Regions from separate parts of the Homo sapiens genome. Here region 2 is linked to region 1. Evidence: promoter capture Hi-C in 16 types of primary human blood cells and fetal thymus (Javierre and others, 2016). All regions are on one chromosome and are shown on one strand. The core of a region is centred on a gene start or on the middle of the fragment in contact, and the rest is flanking DNA. Distances in the headings are between cores, read along the strand shown.

Region 1 (7,804 bases), core at 3,189-5,688:
TTTTCTGGACATTCACAACATACATACATACATACATAACATAAGTGTTATACATACATATATAACATAAGTGTTATCCATAAAGTTAAACACTTAGCTTACTTCTCCTTTCTTGGTAGTTGAAGCTGCCAGGAAAAAAAAAAATCACTTCTGGATAAAAAAGATATGACTATATTCTATTTACAATTTCAAAAACATATGCAAAAATAACAATTCAAAACAATAGTAGTCCAAATTTGCAGTAAATTAAGTCTGTTTTTAGAAAAAAAGGGGTTCTTTTTTCAGATTTGAAGACAACCTAAACATACGAAACAGTATCTGCGTCATGTCGTAAACAGATTTCCTTTTATTTTTCCCTCAATTCCTCCTCTTGCAAAGAAATAGAGTTAGTTGCTAGAGGATCTAAGGTGTTAATCTAATTCACCAAACATCGCCCACTGAGACTATTCTCCCACCTGGTAGGAATCAAAAACACTAGGTCCTTACCAGAAATCGTGCAGCCCCTAGGTTTACAATGGTACCATTGACATTTTGAACCGGATAATTTCTTGCAGAAGTATGTCCTGTGCATTGTAGGGTATTTAGCAACATCCTTGGCCAATACCATTTCCTTCAGCTATGACAACCAAAAATGTCTCTAGACACTGCCAAATTTCCCTTGGAGTCAAAACCGTCCTCGCAGAGCCATTGTTTTAGATGTTAGGGCACTGGATATTTGAAAAAGGAAACCTCCAACTGGCCCTGTTAATTATATTTTTTTAAAATTTGGATTTAAAAAAATAAGACATTAATAGTATAAGAAGATATCTAAATAATACATTTGCTACCCTTCCTTAGGTTAAAGCATTTTTAGAGGATTTTGTAACATGGGTTTCATCAATGTAGCTACATATAGTCACCCACTTTTCCCCCAAAGTTGGGGGAATGTCCAGTTCTTTCTCAGCTCTGCTAGCAAAATGTCAAATACATACATATATACAAGAATCTAAACAATTCTAACTTCCAAAGTCCCATTTCTTGCTTTACATGGCCACGCTGTGGTTCTTGAGCCACACATCCTAGAGATTCAAGCTTCTAATCTCCATGTTTCCTCATCTGGTTGCTGCCAACTAATAGCGAGGTAAGCAGGAAGTAAGCTGATGACCTTTAAGATCTTTTCCCTGATATTCTAATATTCAATGACAAAAATGCCCACTTTTACTTATTGATTCCGAGCTGACCAAACTACCTCTTGAGGTTACTGAAGCCATTCATGCCTTCTCCAACTTTATGCTGAATACAACCAAAAAGTGTATCAGTTATTTACAACATCACTTTTAATATTGGTGATCAGTTGCTTATTCCCTAGCTCAAATAAAAAATTTTAACATGTACACTGATTTTAAAGGAAAAGCTTTTCAAGAAGCTATGAGCCAAGAAGCATTATATGAAAGGCCCACATTAGGCCAATATTGAGACAGAAAGTAGACTAGTGGTTGCCTAAAGCTGGGGGTGGGGTGAAGAGAATGGGGAGTAACTGTTAATGGATAAAGGTTTTTTGAGGGAATGATGAAAATGTTCTAAAATTAGATTATGGTGATGGTTGCACAATTATTTAATCTAAAAACCACTGAATTGTATATTTTTTTTTTTTTTTTGAGATGGAGTCTCGTTCTGTCACCCAGCCTGTAGTGCAGTGGTGCTATCTTGGCTCACTGCAACCTCCACCTCCCAGGTTCAAGCGATTCGCCAGCCTCAGCCTCCCCAGTAGCTGGGATGACAGGCGCTCACCCCCATGCCCGGCTAATTTATATATTTTTAGTACAGACGGGGTTTCACCATGTTGGCTAGGCTGGTCTCGAACTCTGGACCTCAGGTGATCTACCTGACTAGGCTTCCCAAAGTGGTGGGATTACAGGTGTGAGCCACTGAACCCGGCCAAGTGGTACACCTTAAATGGGTGTATTTTATGGTATGTTAATTTTATCTCAATAAAGCAGTTTTTAAAAAGCAAAGAGCAGGAAAGAGGAATTGTAATTAACTTTTGTTGATTAAAAAAAAAAAAAAAAAAAAAAAGAGTGTGATGGGCCGGGGCCGGGGCGGTGGCTCACACCTCTAATCCCAGCACTCTGGGAGGCCGAGGCCGGTGGATCACAAGGTCAGGAGTTCAAGACCAGCCTGGCTAATATGGTGAAACCCCCGTCTCTACTAAAAATACAAAAATCAGCCAGGCGTGGGGGCGCCTGTAGTCCCAGCTACTCAGGAGACTGAGGCAGAAGAATCACTTGAAGCCGGTAGGCGGAGGTTGCGGTGAGCCAAGATAGCGCCACTGCACTCCAGCCTGGGCAACAGAGCAAGACCCCGTCTCAAAAAAAAAAAAAGAAAAGAAACAAAAAAAAAGAGTGTGATGAAGAAATTCTGCAAAATTTGCCGTTTCATGGGCTATATAGGAATTGACTTTAATTCTGACACAAAAAATTATCTTATCCAGAAATCAATTTTAACTTTCCAGAAAATATAAGCATATGCAAAAGTAATCACCTTTTCCTAGTAAACTTTTAGTATTAAATTCTAATTTCAAAAACACTTCAGAAAGCCAAATGCTGTAGTAACAATACTTCTACAAGAACAAAATATACGAATATCAACAACAAAACAGTCTTTACGATTTGGTTGTGATGCATTCTTTATTTTAAAAACCCATTAAAACATTTTTCATTTATTTAAAAAAGTGATCCTCAGACTGCCTCTTAGATTGGTAGTGTAATAATTCTTAAGTTATCAGAACATAATTTAAAAATAGCCAAATTACAATAAAATCGCAAACATCTACTGTCGTCCCAAACAACTATCAATTACAGCTACTGGTAACCTATCATAAGCAATGATGAGCACTACGAACCATCAACATCCATTTCTAGGAAATCCGATTCTGACTACACTACAAATACAGTCAAACAAATCCCATCATTCCCTCTGTTCCATCATTTAACTGCTTAGAAATCATTTAGGCTCTGAAGGTGCTTTTTCCAATTAGAACTCCCCTTCGGATTTATAAAAGTGAATGTACATCAAAATCTGCAGTTTAGGTTATCGCAGTAATATTTCTCGGTATACTACAAGTAATTTATCACGGTATTACTTAAAGGCGTTTAGTATTAAGACCGCCCTTGATTTGACAAATCAGAAATACAGCCAATTAAAAACAAAAACAGTCCAAACAATTTAATTCTTCGAAAGAGCCTCAATAAAGACCAAAAAATAAAGCTGGTTAGAAGAAAAAAATTTTTTTTTGAAACGCCTGTCAGTCAAAATGCTAAAAATACCATCTTGAACTCAACACATGAACAGACCAAACGGCTAATTATAATTGGCAAGCCAAAGTTCCCAAGTCAACGACGGGAGAGCAGAAACGGCAGAGAGGGCCTGCCCTTTCTGTCTATGCAGAGATGGAAGGAGGCAGAACTGAAGAAAATTATTGCACAAATTATTTCAAGCTACATTGCCAAAATGCAAAATACTGAGTAACTCTTTGGGTTAGCCTTCCCCGGAGAGAAAAACAAACAAATGTTTTAACGATTCCAGTAGAATCCAATAGGACTAAGGGCCTGGCTGGAAAAAGAAAAGGAAAGTTTGGGGGCAGCGTCTAAGGGGGTGATGGAAGTTCCAGAGCTGGGATCCCGGAAAGATAAGAGAGGGGCAAGAGCGGCGTTTGCGGTCGCTGACAGGAGGCAGGGAACACAGCTGCCAGCCCCGATCCCGGAGGGAGAGTGAAAAGGAAAAAAAAAAAAAAAAAAGGAAGTGGCGGAGAGGAGCATGGAAGCTTCAGTGCCGGTCAGCTGTGACCGAAACTCGGTCCGTTTGGGGCTGGGGAGGAGAGCCGAGGGGGTGGGGTCTCGGTCCCTCTCTCCGCTGTAGGTCGGGGTGAGAGTGGGCTGAGACGCGCGGGGGGCCGCGGGGCACACCTACCTGCGGGTCCCGGGGCAGCCGCCCTGAGCGAGGCCTAGTGCATCGCCGCCGCCTCCAGCCCTCCACGTCGCACCGAGGCTGCTGCTCCACGGCCGCCGCCGCCCGGCGCCCGGCCGGGCCCGAGCCCGGGTTCCCGCCCCCGCCCCGCGCCCGCTGGCCAGTCGGCCCGGGGAGCACAGGGCCGCCCTCTCGAGCCCAGCTTCACTCAGGGGTGAGAGGTGGCAGCGGCGGCTCCCTCACGTCTCTCCCGGGTGTCCTGTCAGCCAGCAGTTTCCCCCGGGTCCGCAGCGCCGCCTCCGCCGCTGCTGCCACCGCCTCTCCCACATCCCCGGCCTCCAGGGGAGCCGCCGCCGCCGCGCCACGACCACTGCCTCTAGCGCTTCTGCTCCCGACTCCACTGCTTTCCCTCACCCCGCCGGCCCAGCCGGCTCGGCCCGGTCGGGTGCGGGGAGACAGCGCCGGAGGCCGCCGCAGCCCCCAGCCCACAATCCACCGCGCGGCTCCGCCGGGGCGGGAGGGCCGCGGCCCGGGCCGGGGGGAGCGCCCGCCGCCTGGGGAAAGCGGCCTTGGCGCAGGCCGGCGTGCCCGTCGCAGGCGCAGCCAGAGTTCTCTCGGGGCGGGGAATACACCGCGTGGCTCCCCTGCGCCTCCTCTAATAGTCCTACACGCAGACAAATCCACGCTGAATTCCACTTTCCCCACCACCCTTCCCCCCAACTCCCAGTTTTCAGGAACACCCAGAAAACCTCCTGCCGCCTTCCCCGGGACTGGGACGCGACCCCTCCAGCGTAGCCCTCGCCACCCCCAAGACCAACCGACTCGAAACATCCCTAAATCACCCGGGACCTATTAAAGCAAATACTTCCACGAGATTCCTCCTCTCCCCCACCCCCTCGAAGTAAATGCTTTTCAGCTGTTCCCTAGTAAATGCCCTTCCAAAGGTTAAAGGTCACCCCTCCGCAACAACCCAGTTCTCTCTATTGAGGCCTTTTCCCCATCCAGTCCTCCCCTCCAAGTCTTCCCCAAGTTCCAGGCCTTCCTCCCAGACACTGTAATCAGTTATTCCTGTTACTTGACTGAGATACTTGGAGTGTGTATGATAATTAATACCTTCTAATTCTGACTTCAGCCTGGTTTCACAGGACTTGCAACTTTAAACCAATAAAACACAGTCCACAAGAAAGGGAAGGTCTTAGTATATAAATATAAAGACACACACACACACACACACACACATATATTTTAGGAAGAAAAAGATCCTCAATCCTTTGAGTGCTTGTGACTTAATTTTGGGAAGATTTTATTCAATGTTGAAATTCTTGCCTAAAAATAAATTTCAAGCATTTATAAGACATAGTATGTTTTAACAAATCAAAAGTGAAAATGTAACTCTTATAGTTGGGGGGTTGAAAAAAATGTTGATCCAAGTTTCACTTCTAAGAAGTCACTTTGAAAACTGCAAACATAACTTTTATGAAATAATATTTTCCCCACCAAAGAGCTAAAGTTGGGGAAAGAGGACAAAAAGTAAGGAAGCATCAAAAATAGTTGAGAGAAAACTCTTACATTATATTTTTCTAAGTTCAATCCTCTAAAATTATGTAAGAAACAAAGTGAGAAAATCATTCCCCAATATGAAATAAATTTAACTGTAAAAGAGTGAAGTCCTCTTAAATCCCTGATCACTTATAAAACCAGATGAGTTTACATAGAAGCAGAGTAGAATGGTGGTTACCAAAGACTGGGGGGTAAAGGGTGATGAGGAAAGGGGAAATGTGAGTCAAAGGGTATAAAGTTTCAGGTAGGAGGAATAAATTTTAGTGATCTATTGCACAGCACGATGACCACAGTTAATAACAATGTATTTAATATTCCAGAATAGCTAAAAGAGTACTTTCTTTGTTTTGTTTTGTTGAGACTGTGTCTGGCTCTGTTGCCCAGGCCAGAGTGCAGTGGCATGATCTTGGCTCACTGCAACCTCTGCCTCCCAGGTTGAAGCAATTCTCCTGCCTCAGCCTCCCGAGCCGCTGGGACTACAGGCGCGCACCACCACGCCCAGCTAATTTTTGTATTTTTAGTAGAGACGGGGTTTCACCATATTTGCCAGGCTGGTCTCCAAACTCTTGACCTCGTGATCCACCTGCCTCAGCCTCCCAAAGTGCTGGGATTACAGGCATGAGCCACCACGCCCAGCCAAGAGTACATTTTAAATGTTCTCACCATAAAAAAAATAAGCTGGGTACAGTGGCCCACACTTGTAGTCTCAGCTGAAGTGGAAGGATGCCTTGAAACTAGCAGTTTGAGTCCAGCCTGGACAACATAGCCAGACACCATCTCTTAAAAAAAAAAAAAAAAGTAGGTGAGGTGAAAGATATGTTAATTAGCTTGGTTTAGTTATTCCACAGTGTGTACATATATCAAAACATCACATTGGATCCTATAAATATATATAATTATTATTTGTCAGTTTAAAAATTTTTTATTAAAAAAGATGTGTTTATACTGTGAAAATATTAACAAGAGGATTAACCAAGTTTTATCTAAGGCCAGAAAGGAAAATAATTTTTCTTTATGTCTAGAATCAGTTCATAGATTATGCTAGGAATTGGATTTAGCAAATTCTTATATTTTGACCCCCCTCAGGAAGTCAACAACAGTTCAAAAACTTCCTTAAGCCTGGCTGGTTTGGCCTTTAAAAAAATATTTGTGTTTATACCCCACCTTGTTCCAGAAAAGATTCCAACTTGGCACTTGGACTAAATGATAGCCGTCAGTTGTCTCCCAGACACTAGAACAAGACAGTCTGGTTTGCTTCCTCATTATCCATCTGTTGATAACATACCATAGGAAGAAAATACACATTGAGTGTCGTGCTTAGTTCTTTCAGAGATCCAGCTCAATGTTTACTTTTACTTTTACTTTTCCACAGAACAATTCATAATCTTGAATCTAAACAGGAAAGTAAATGCTGATGATCAGGTTTGCAAAAATTTTTTTAAAGTGTGTAAACTGGGCAAGCAATTTCATTTAAACCTAGATAAATTTCAAATTAATTACTATGTTCACTTGCTATCACTTGAATCATTTCAGTCAGTATGAGAGCTAAAAGCCAAATCACAAATAAATAGGTATAGATATATTATTAGTGTACATTTCCAGAAAGCACAGATGATAGAAAATTAAGAAATTAATACAAAATTAAGAAATGGATAGGAGTTAAGATTCCATCATTGCCTTCAAAAAAAGGAATCAGGAAGAAAATATTTAGCTACCATGTCACTAACACTGTATTTGGCATATTTATTATATCTGTTACCGACCAATCACATGAAAAGTGATAGTCCATCAAGGTTATATGTTCTAATTAGAGGGAGAATGGCAAATTTTCTAATGCCATAACACCTATAAAAGGGCTATGTTTATGTTTACTGTGTATTCTGTGCATATTTGTATAGGTGGCAGTAGTAAGGTTAACATAGCTACTCAATCACTGAACACTGCCTTTCTTTTTTTTTTTTTTGAGATGGAGTCTTGCTCTGTCACCCAGGCTAGAGTGCAGTGGCACGATCTCGACTCACTGCAAGCTCCACCTCCCAGGTTCATACCATTCTCCTGCCTCAGCCTCCCAATATAGCTGGGACTACAGGCGCCCGCCTCCACGCCTGGCTAATTTTTTGTATTTTTAGTAGAGACGGGGTTTCACCGTGTTAGCCAGGATGGTCGTGATCTCCTGACCTCACGATCTGCCCGCCTCGGCCTCCCCAAGTGCTGGGATTACAGGCGTGAGCCACCATGTCCGGCCTGAACATTGCCTTTCTAATGATTTATTTGATAGAAACTATACATTCCCGTGCTA
Region 2 (7,804 bases), core at 3,049-5,548, 1.1 Mb after region 1:
AAGCTTTAACCCTTTCTATCTACTTTTTTAACTGTTCAGATTACACTTTCAATTGCCTTTTTTTTTTTTTTTTTTTTTTTTTTGAGACAAGTCTTGCTCTGTTGCCCAGGCTGGAGTGCAATGGTGTGATCTCGGCTCACTGCAACCTCCACCTCCGAGGTTCAAGAGATTGTCCTGCCTCAGCCTCCCGAGTAGCTGGGATTACAGGCGCCAGCCAACACACCCAGATAATTTTCTGTATTAGTAGAGATAGGGTTTTGCCATATTGGCCAGGCTGGTCTTGAACTCCTGACCTTAGGTGATCCACCTGCTTCAGCCTGATCAACATTAGAGATGGCTGGGTACTCTATACAAAAATTAGCTGGTTATGGTGGCAAATGCCTGTAATCCCAGCTACTCAGGAGACCAAGGCAGGAAAATCGCTTGAACCCAGGAGGCAGAGATTGCAGTGAGCCAAGATCGCGCCACTGCACTCCAGCCTGGGTGACAGAGTGAGACTCCATCTCGAAAAAAAGAAAAAGAAAAGAAAACAAAAACAAAAAAAAACACAAACAGCCAGGCACAGTGGCTCACGCCTGTAATCCCAACACTTTGGGAGGCCAAGGCCCGGGCGACAGAGCAAGATTCCGTCTCAAAAAAAAAACAAAACAAACAAAAAAAGTAATACAGCTACCAACTCTTATGTAAACCAATATAAATCTAAAAATTCTGTTGCTTCAGAATCTTTTTTCTCAAGATCCCATTTTCACTACCAAATTTAGCAGAACCCATTAACAAAGATTATAAATTTCTAAAAGAAACAATATAAATTGGTAATGATAAACCAAAGTAACTTAAGGAACATCTGGAGTACATTTGTAAACATTAGCTAATATACCATTGTTAGTTATTAAGATAACATACTGGAAGCAGGAAAAGCATCCACCCATTAAAGTTTTAATTGAAGAGAAAGCAAGACTTTGGAGTTTGGAACAAGATGTTAAAAACGAATGAGCTTGTATTTGCGTGATAAAACACTAAAGAACTTTTCTTTCTTTCCTTTATTTTCCAAATTTTCTCTAATTACTTTTATAAAGATAACAAGCTTCATTAAAACAAAAAGAAACTGCTTAAGTCAGATTACTAAAAATCTGATTGCTCACTGCCCTTGTGACCTCCCCTAATAAAATATCCCTCACTTCCTCTCACCCTAAGTAATTTTCACTAACACTTTTGCAAAGGTTTTCTCAAATTCCTGTATTATTTTACTAAACAGTCTAGAATACAAATATAGTAGGCCAGATACCCATGTATTTGATCCCAGAAAAAATATAAAAACTGTTTCTGGGTTTGATCCCTTTGAGGTCATTAGTCTTCAAAAGAAAGGATGATTTGACACCGTATTTACTTATTAATTACTGTCCTTGTCATTTATGAGCCATTCCTCCTTCTTCTCCCCCTTGAAAATTCCTAGTCACTCCCTCTGTTCCTCCAAATCTAATTGCTGATAAATCCCTTTCAGGTCTCTCTTCTATAAAGTCTTCCAAAACCCAGATAGCCAACCACAACCCACCATCCCCCTGAAATCTTGTTGCTCTCATCCATGCCACACATCTGGAATTTGCTATATCTACTGGTATTTGACATGTATAAAATCTATTTCTGCCGGGCGCGGTGGCTCACGCCTGTAATCCCAACACTTTGGGAAGCTGAGGCGGGCGGATCACTTCGGGAGTTTGAGACCAGCCTGACCAACATGGAGAAACCCCGTCTCTACCAAAAATACAAAATTAGCCGGGAGTGGTGGCACATGCCTGTAATCCCAACTTCTCGGGAATCTGAGGCAGGAGAATCACTTGAACCCAGGAGGCGGAGGTGGCGGTGAGAGGAGATTTGCGCCATTGCACTCCAGCCTGGGCAACAAGATTGAAACTCCGTCTCAAAACAATAAATAATTTTTTTTTTGAGACGGAGTCTTGCTCTGTCGTCCAGGCTGGAGTGCAGTGGCCAGATCTTGGTTCACTGCAAGCTCCACCTCCCGGGATCACGCCATTCTCCTGCCTCAGCCTCTCGAGTAGCTGGGACTACAGGTGCCCACCACCACGCCCGGCTAATTTTTTTGCATTTTTAGTAGAGACGGGGTTTCACCGTGTTACCGAGGATGGTCTCGATCTCCTGACCTCGGGATCCGCCCGCCTCGGCCTCCCAAAGTGCTGGGATTACTGAGGTGAGCCACCGCGCCTGGCCTATATCTAAACTTCTTAAGCGCAAGGATTATATTCCTAAATCCTGGTACTAATAGAATGCCTTTCATGAAAATGATGCATACCACCTGAAGAATGCTCACACGGTTTTTCAAATTCTTTTATATACATTTGAATTTCACCACTACCCTGACAGGAATAATGACTCCAATTATCCTATTTTACAAAAGGGAAAAAAAATTCAGAGGCTGAGTAACTTGTCAAAGTTCTCAACTAATCTTGAAGATTTATTTACACTAATAAACATATATATAGCAAATTCAGAAAATTTCCTGAACAGTAGAGGTCTATAAACCTCGATAAAGCAGTAAATCCATGTTCTTTATTGTTACCAAGAAAACTACTAAATTAAGAACCTCAAGTTCACCTCCGTTCAACTGTGCAAAACCAACTTTGTCCTTGGAGCCCTTGAAAAAAAATTTTTTTTAAACTGTCAACACAGCAAATGTCACTACAAGAACACTACCCTCAACTTCTAAAACATGAAATTCTAATAAAATACTACGGTTTCTGTTTAGTGCAAAAGATTTCAGCTTCAAGCCACACTATTACAAAACTTGTAAGCATTTTGCAAGAGCCATGTGACACACATATGACAGTCAGCTAAACTGGTGGGTGGACCTTTTAGGGGAAAATGTCTAGCAGTAATTGACCAAACCAGCAAATAAACTCAACTTTTACAACAAATACTGATGTTCCCCCATCCCTCAAAGGCCTTTGACACTGAAAAGGAATACCAATTCGGTCTCTTCCAATTATTCATTACTTTACATGCATGTAAACTGTAGAGGAAATTTTTAAAGGGCCATTGAGGAGAGCCCAACAAACTCTACCCAAGGGAAGTGAACACCAGTTCCCAGGAAAGGTGCCAGGTGTGTCACATCTGCTGTGGTGACTTCTTGAGTAAGCAAGAAAAAGAAATGCATTAACTTTTCATGACACGTCATGGAACCTCATTCCCTATCTGCAAGCATCCAAGCAGGTAATCCAAAACCTACATACAGATCTATCATAGGTCCCGTTCGTTTCTCTTTCAACTTGACAGCAAGCTTCCTTTAATCTGCGAGTATCAAAAAGACATTTCTTGGCTTTAGTTTTTTTTTTTTCCCTTGACCCACAGAAGACAAAATGACTTAGGTGTCCTCTTTAAAAAAAAAAAAAACAAAATTCTCACAAATGCCCAGGTTTTTATAGGAGGGCAATGGACCCGGCGAGCTCTTAAACAACTCCTCCAAGACACAACTCAAAAAGAGAACTAATAAATGTTCAGTTGCTTCTCACCATCTACTCATTCCCCTCAATCCCACGCAGTCCCGAAAAGCATCCATATTACCTGAAACCTGGCGGGGAGGATGGAAGGAGAGAGAGCCAACAAGCTCAGGATTTACAAGTAAAGCTGGTTTCTACCCCGAAGATCCTGACAGCTCCGCAGAGTGCGGGCGCAGGGTCTGACAGTGCCCTCTAGAAGGGCTCTCCCACCCCATCCCCTCCCCTTAGAGACAAGTCCTCCTTCAAAAGTCACTGCCTCCGAGAGAAGATACCCCTTCACACCGCCCCAGGCCCCTCGGCAGGCTTCCTCAGCACCCGCCCCGCAGTCAGGCCCTCTAACCTGACCCGGTCCAGGCCCGGGCGGCTCACCCCTCCGGCCCGACCCCTCCCCCGCGCGGCCGCCCCTCCGCGTCAGACAATGGGGCCCGACTCCCGGCCGCCAGCCTCTCCTGACCCATCACCCTCGCCTCACCCCAGCCGATGCCCCGACTTCTGCCCCAACCCTCCTCGACCCCTTTAAGATCCCCCAAGCTGGCCCACGGACCCAGCCGACCGGTGCTCTCCTGAACTCACTATTCGGGATTCATGCTGGACATGTCACTGCAGCTGCCGCCGCCGCCACCGCCGCCCTTGCTGCCGCAGCCGCCGCCCTGACTCTCCGCGCCACGGGTAATCGAAAGAAAGGAATGAGATAGGCTGTTCCGGGAGAGCAAACGTCTTCCCCTACTCCGTCCCCTAGAACACAATCAGCAGCCGCCGCCACTCAGCTATCGCTTCCACCCAAAATGGCCGCCGGCGAACCAGGAAATAGGGAAGCCTTAGACCGAGGGGCCTTTACACGGCCCAGAGGGCGGCCGCACCGCCTGGCATGCCGGGAAAGGGAGTCGCGAGCGCGGCTACGCGAGCTGAGGACAGACAGTGCGACGCAAGGCCAGGACTCAGCTTCCCGCCAAGCGCCGCGCCTCTGGGGCATGCGTACCTGAAGGGTTGTCGCCCGCCCCATTCCCCACTCCCTCACCTCCCCACCCTCGGCCCCTCCCTGCTCCCCTCCCCTCTGACTCGCTGGCTAGGACTTCGCTCGGACTCCCCCTGGCGGATTGGCTAAGGCCGAGCTGCCCTAGTGATGTCATCAGTGAGACGTGGCAGCCGGGCGAGTCAGCGCCCCACGGGGGAGGGGGCGGAGAGGGGCGGAGGGTGGTGCCGGCGGCCGACGGAGGCTGGGGGTCGGGGGAGGCAAGGGACCGGGGGGAGTGGTCAAACCGGAGGGACTGCCGGGGGTGCGGGGGCGGGGAGGGGGCCGGGGTACGAGCGTGTCGGCTCCTGCCTCCGTTGCGGCTGTTGCTGACCTGACCAGCTTGAGGCTTGCGCCACCCTGGTGGCGCTGGTTGGGGGCTGGTAGGAGGACGTCCGCTCTAAGAACAGAAGGGAAGTCAAGGGGCTCCCTGGACGGCACGGAGCGGTTCTTCTCGTCACTCACCCATCCCCACCTGGGTTCGGTCATCGTCCATTGTTGGCCCCGCGCACTACCATTTTCTTCTTAGATTTCTTCCCATTCTTACTGTGCCCCGCTCTTAACTCGTCAGCCTGGCTATTGCAGTAGTCTCCAAATGGACTCTACCTCTCTCTCTCCTCTCCGCCCCAGCCCATTTGCACACACAGTCGGATGTATCTTTCTGAGACAGCACCTGCATCGTGACCCCACAACCTTCAATGGCTCCACATCCCATGGATGGGAGGGACACAGCCCAGAGCCAGCCTAAAATCCAATTCCTACCTTCGTCCCGGCCTTCAGGTTGAATTGTAATGTATTATCTTTTAGTTGCTACTAACCCTGAGCCATTCTGCAAGACTGGAAAATAATAAGCAATAAAAATAGGCAATTCATCACTATATAGTGCCTACAATTTCTGGGAGTAATATTAACTCATTTTTAAAAAACCTATGGCCTTAACAGCTCTCTTTAATCAGCTCAGGAATTTAAATCTCCGCTAAACTTTAACACATTATCTTGAGTTATTTAATTACAAAGGGCATAGTGTAATACATTGTCCAAAGTTTATCTTCCAACTTCTAAGAACTAAGAAAATTGTCTCCTGAGACTTACTGCAGAATCACTTTAAATTCCTACAACGCCAAAATATAGAAAGAAGGCACTTATTTCTACCCATACACTAATTACACCCCTTAGCCCTCAAATTCTGCCATGGGCCTTAGTTGATGAACTTATCAAAAGTTACCCGAGTTTGGTTTCTGAAATGAACATGTTGGTTTCTGAAATGAACACGGTCACCACCCCAGGAATACCCTGAATGGTTCAGTAATAGGCACCAAAAAGTGTTCGTTACCCTGGACTCTAAAGCCCATTAAAAAAAAAAAAAGCTTATTTTGATTTCAAATAAAAACTCAGAAAACTGGCCAGGCTCGGTGGCTCATGCCTGTAATCTCAGGAATTTGAGAGGCCAAAACGGACAGATCACGAGGTCAGGAATTCAAGACCAGCCTGGCCAACATGGTGAAACACTGTCTCTACTAAAAATACAAAAATTAGCCAGGCATGGTGGCGCGTGCCTGTAATCCCAGCTACTCGGGAGGCTGAGGCAGGAAAATTGCTTGAACCCGGGAGGCGGAGGCTACAGTGGGCCGAGAGGCCACTGCACTCCAGCCTGGGCGACAGAGCAAGATTCTGTCTTGAGGGGAGAAAAAAAATCTCAGAAAACTGTGACCTGAGTCACTAGTAAAGGCACACACACACACACACACACACACACACCCCCAAAAAACCCTCAGAAAACTGTCCAGAACTCGTCCTCAGCCAAAAATACAATCTGTCCTCCCCTGGGAAGTATACTCCCAAACTTCCTTTAATTAACTATTTTCTTTCCCAACAAAGAATTACCCCCTGCCAGGCGCAGTGGCTCACGCCTGTAATCCCAACACTTTGGGAGGCCAAGGCGGGCAGATTATGAGGTCAGGAGATCGAGACCATCCTGGCCAACATGGTGAAACCCCGTCTCTGCTAAAAATACAAAAATTAGCTGGGCGTGGTGGCGTGTGGCACGTGAGATTACAGAATCTCAGCTACTCGGGAGGCTGAGGCAGGAGAATGGCTTGAACCAGGGAGTCAGAGGTTGTAGTGAGCCGAGATCGCGCCACTGCACTCCAGCCTGGCAACAGAGCGAGACTCAGTCTCAACAACAACCACCAAAAAAAAAAAAATTACCTCCTAGTAGCTTTTAATCTAAGTGACAGGATAGCTGTAAGCGTTGAATAAACACAATGTAAAGCATATAGTACAATGGCTTTGGGACCCTTGGTAAATGTTAATTACTTTTCTCTGTAGGAGAGCAAAAAAATGACTTCCCTCCACCCTGCTAGGTTCCTTGGCTAGTTTATGAACTAAATTAACCTAAGACAGATTAACAGGAGAAAATCATATTTGATTAAGTACATATGCATGGGAGTTCCTCAAAATAAGAGACTCCAAGAAGGGTCTGATGATTGAAGCATCCTGAGCTACAGAAAAGAATACGGCTTGGTGGCCGGGTGCAGTAGCTCACGCCTCTAATCCCAGCACTTTGGGAGGCCAAGGCGGGTGGATCACGAGGTCAGGACATCAAGATCATCCTGGCTAACACGGTGAAACCCAGTCTCTACTAAAAATGCAAAAACAAAATTACCTGGGCGTGGTGGCGGCTGCCTGTAGTCCCAGCTACTCGGGAGGCTGAGACAGAAGAATGGCGTGAATCCGGGAGGCGGAGCTTGCAGTCAGCTGAGATGGCACCACTGCACTCCAGCCTGGGCTACAGAGCGAGAGTCCATCTCAAAAAAAAAAAAGAATAGGGCTTGGTGCCGGGCGCGGTGGCTTACGGCTTACGGCTGTGATCCCAGCTCTTTGAGAAGCCAAGGTGGGTGGATCACTAGAGGTCAAGAGTTCGAGACCAGCCTGGCCAACCTGGCGAAACCCTGTCTCTACTAAAAACACAAAAAATTGGGCAGGCACAGTGGCTCACGCCTGTAATCCCAGCACTTTGGGAGGCCAAGGCAGGTGGATCATTTGAGGAGTTCAAGACCAGCCTGACCAATATGGTGAAAACCCGTCTCTACTAAAAATACAAAAATCAGCTGGGCATGGTGGCACATACCTGTGATCCCAGCTGCTCGGGAGGCTGAGGCAGGAGAATCGCTTGAACCTGGGAGGCGGAGATTGCAGTGAGCCGAAACTGTGCCACAGCACTCCAGCCTGGGCAACAGAGCGAGACTCAATCTCAAAAAAAAAAAAATTGAAAAAATTA

Evidence for each region. The method cuts DNA at HindIII sites, captures the fragments that hold promoters and counts their contacts. A CHiCAGO score of 5 or more calls a contact.
Region 2: the fragment with the promoter of RAB1A here is called in contact with the fragment with the promoter of VPS54 in region 1 in 6 of 17 cell types (non-activated CD4 T cells, total B cells, total CD4 T cells and 3 more); the score reaches 7.9 in non-activated CD4 T cells.

Annotation. Positions count from the first base shown.
Region 1 is chr2:64,014,990-64,022,793 of GRCh38, forward strand. VPS54 (VPS54 subunit of GARP complex) reads right to left here and starts at 4,439. Exons shown (of 23, transcript NM_016516.3): 1 at 3,949-4,439. RefSeq lists an enhancer at 3,623-3,692 and a silencer at 3,853-4,562. The HindIII fragment of the contact is 5,022 bases long and covers 3,801-7,804 here.
Region 2 is chr2:65,125,808-65,133,611 of GRCh38, forward strand. It overlaps RAB1A (RAB1A, member RAS oncogene family), which reads right to left and starts at 4,299. Exons shown (of 6, transcript NM_004161.5): 1 at 4,086-4,299. The coding sequence starts at 4,108. RefSeq lists enhancers at 1,504-2,043, 3,567-4,081, 4,078-4,337, 4,082-4,595 and silencers at 3,898-3,947, 4,448-4,797. The HindIII fragment of the contact is 2,599 bases long and covers 3,291-5,889 here.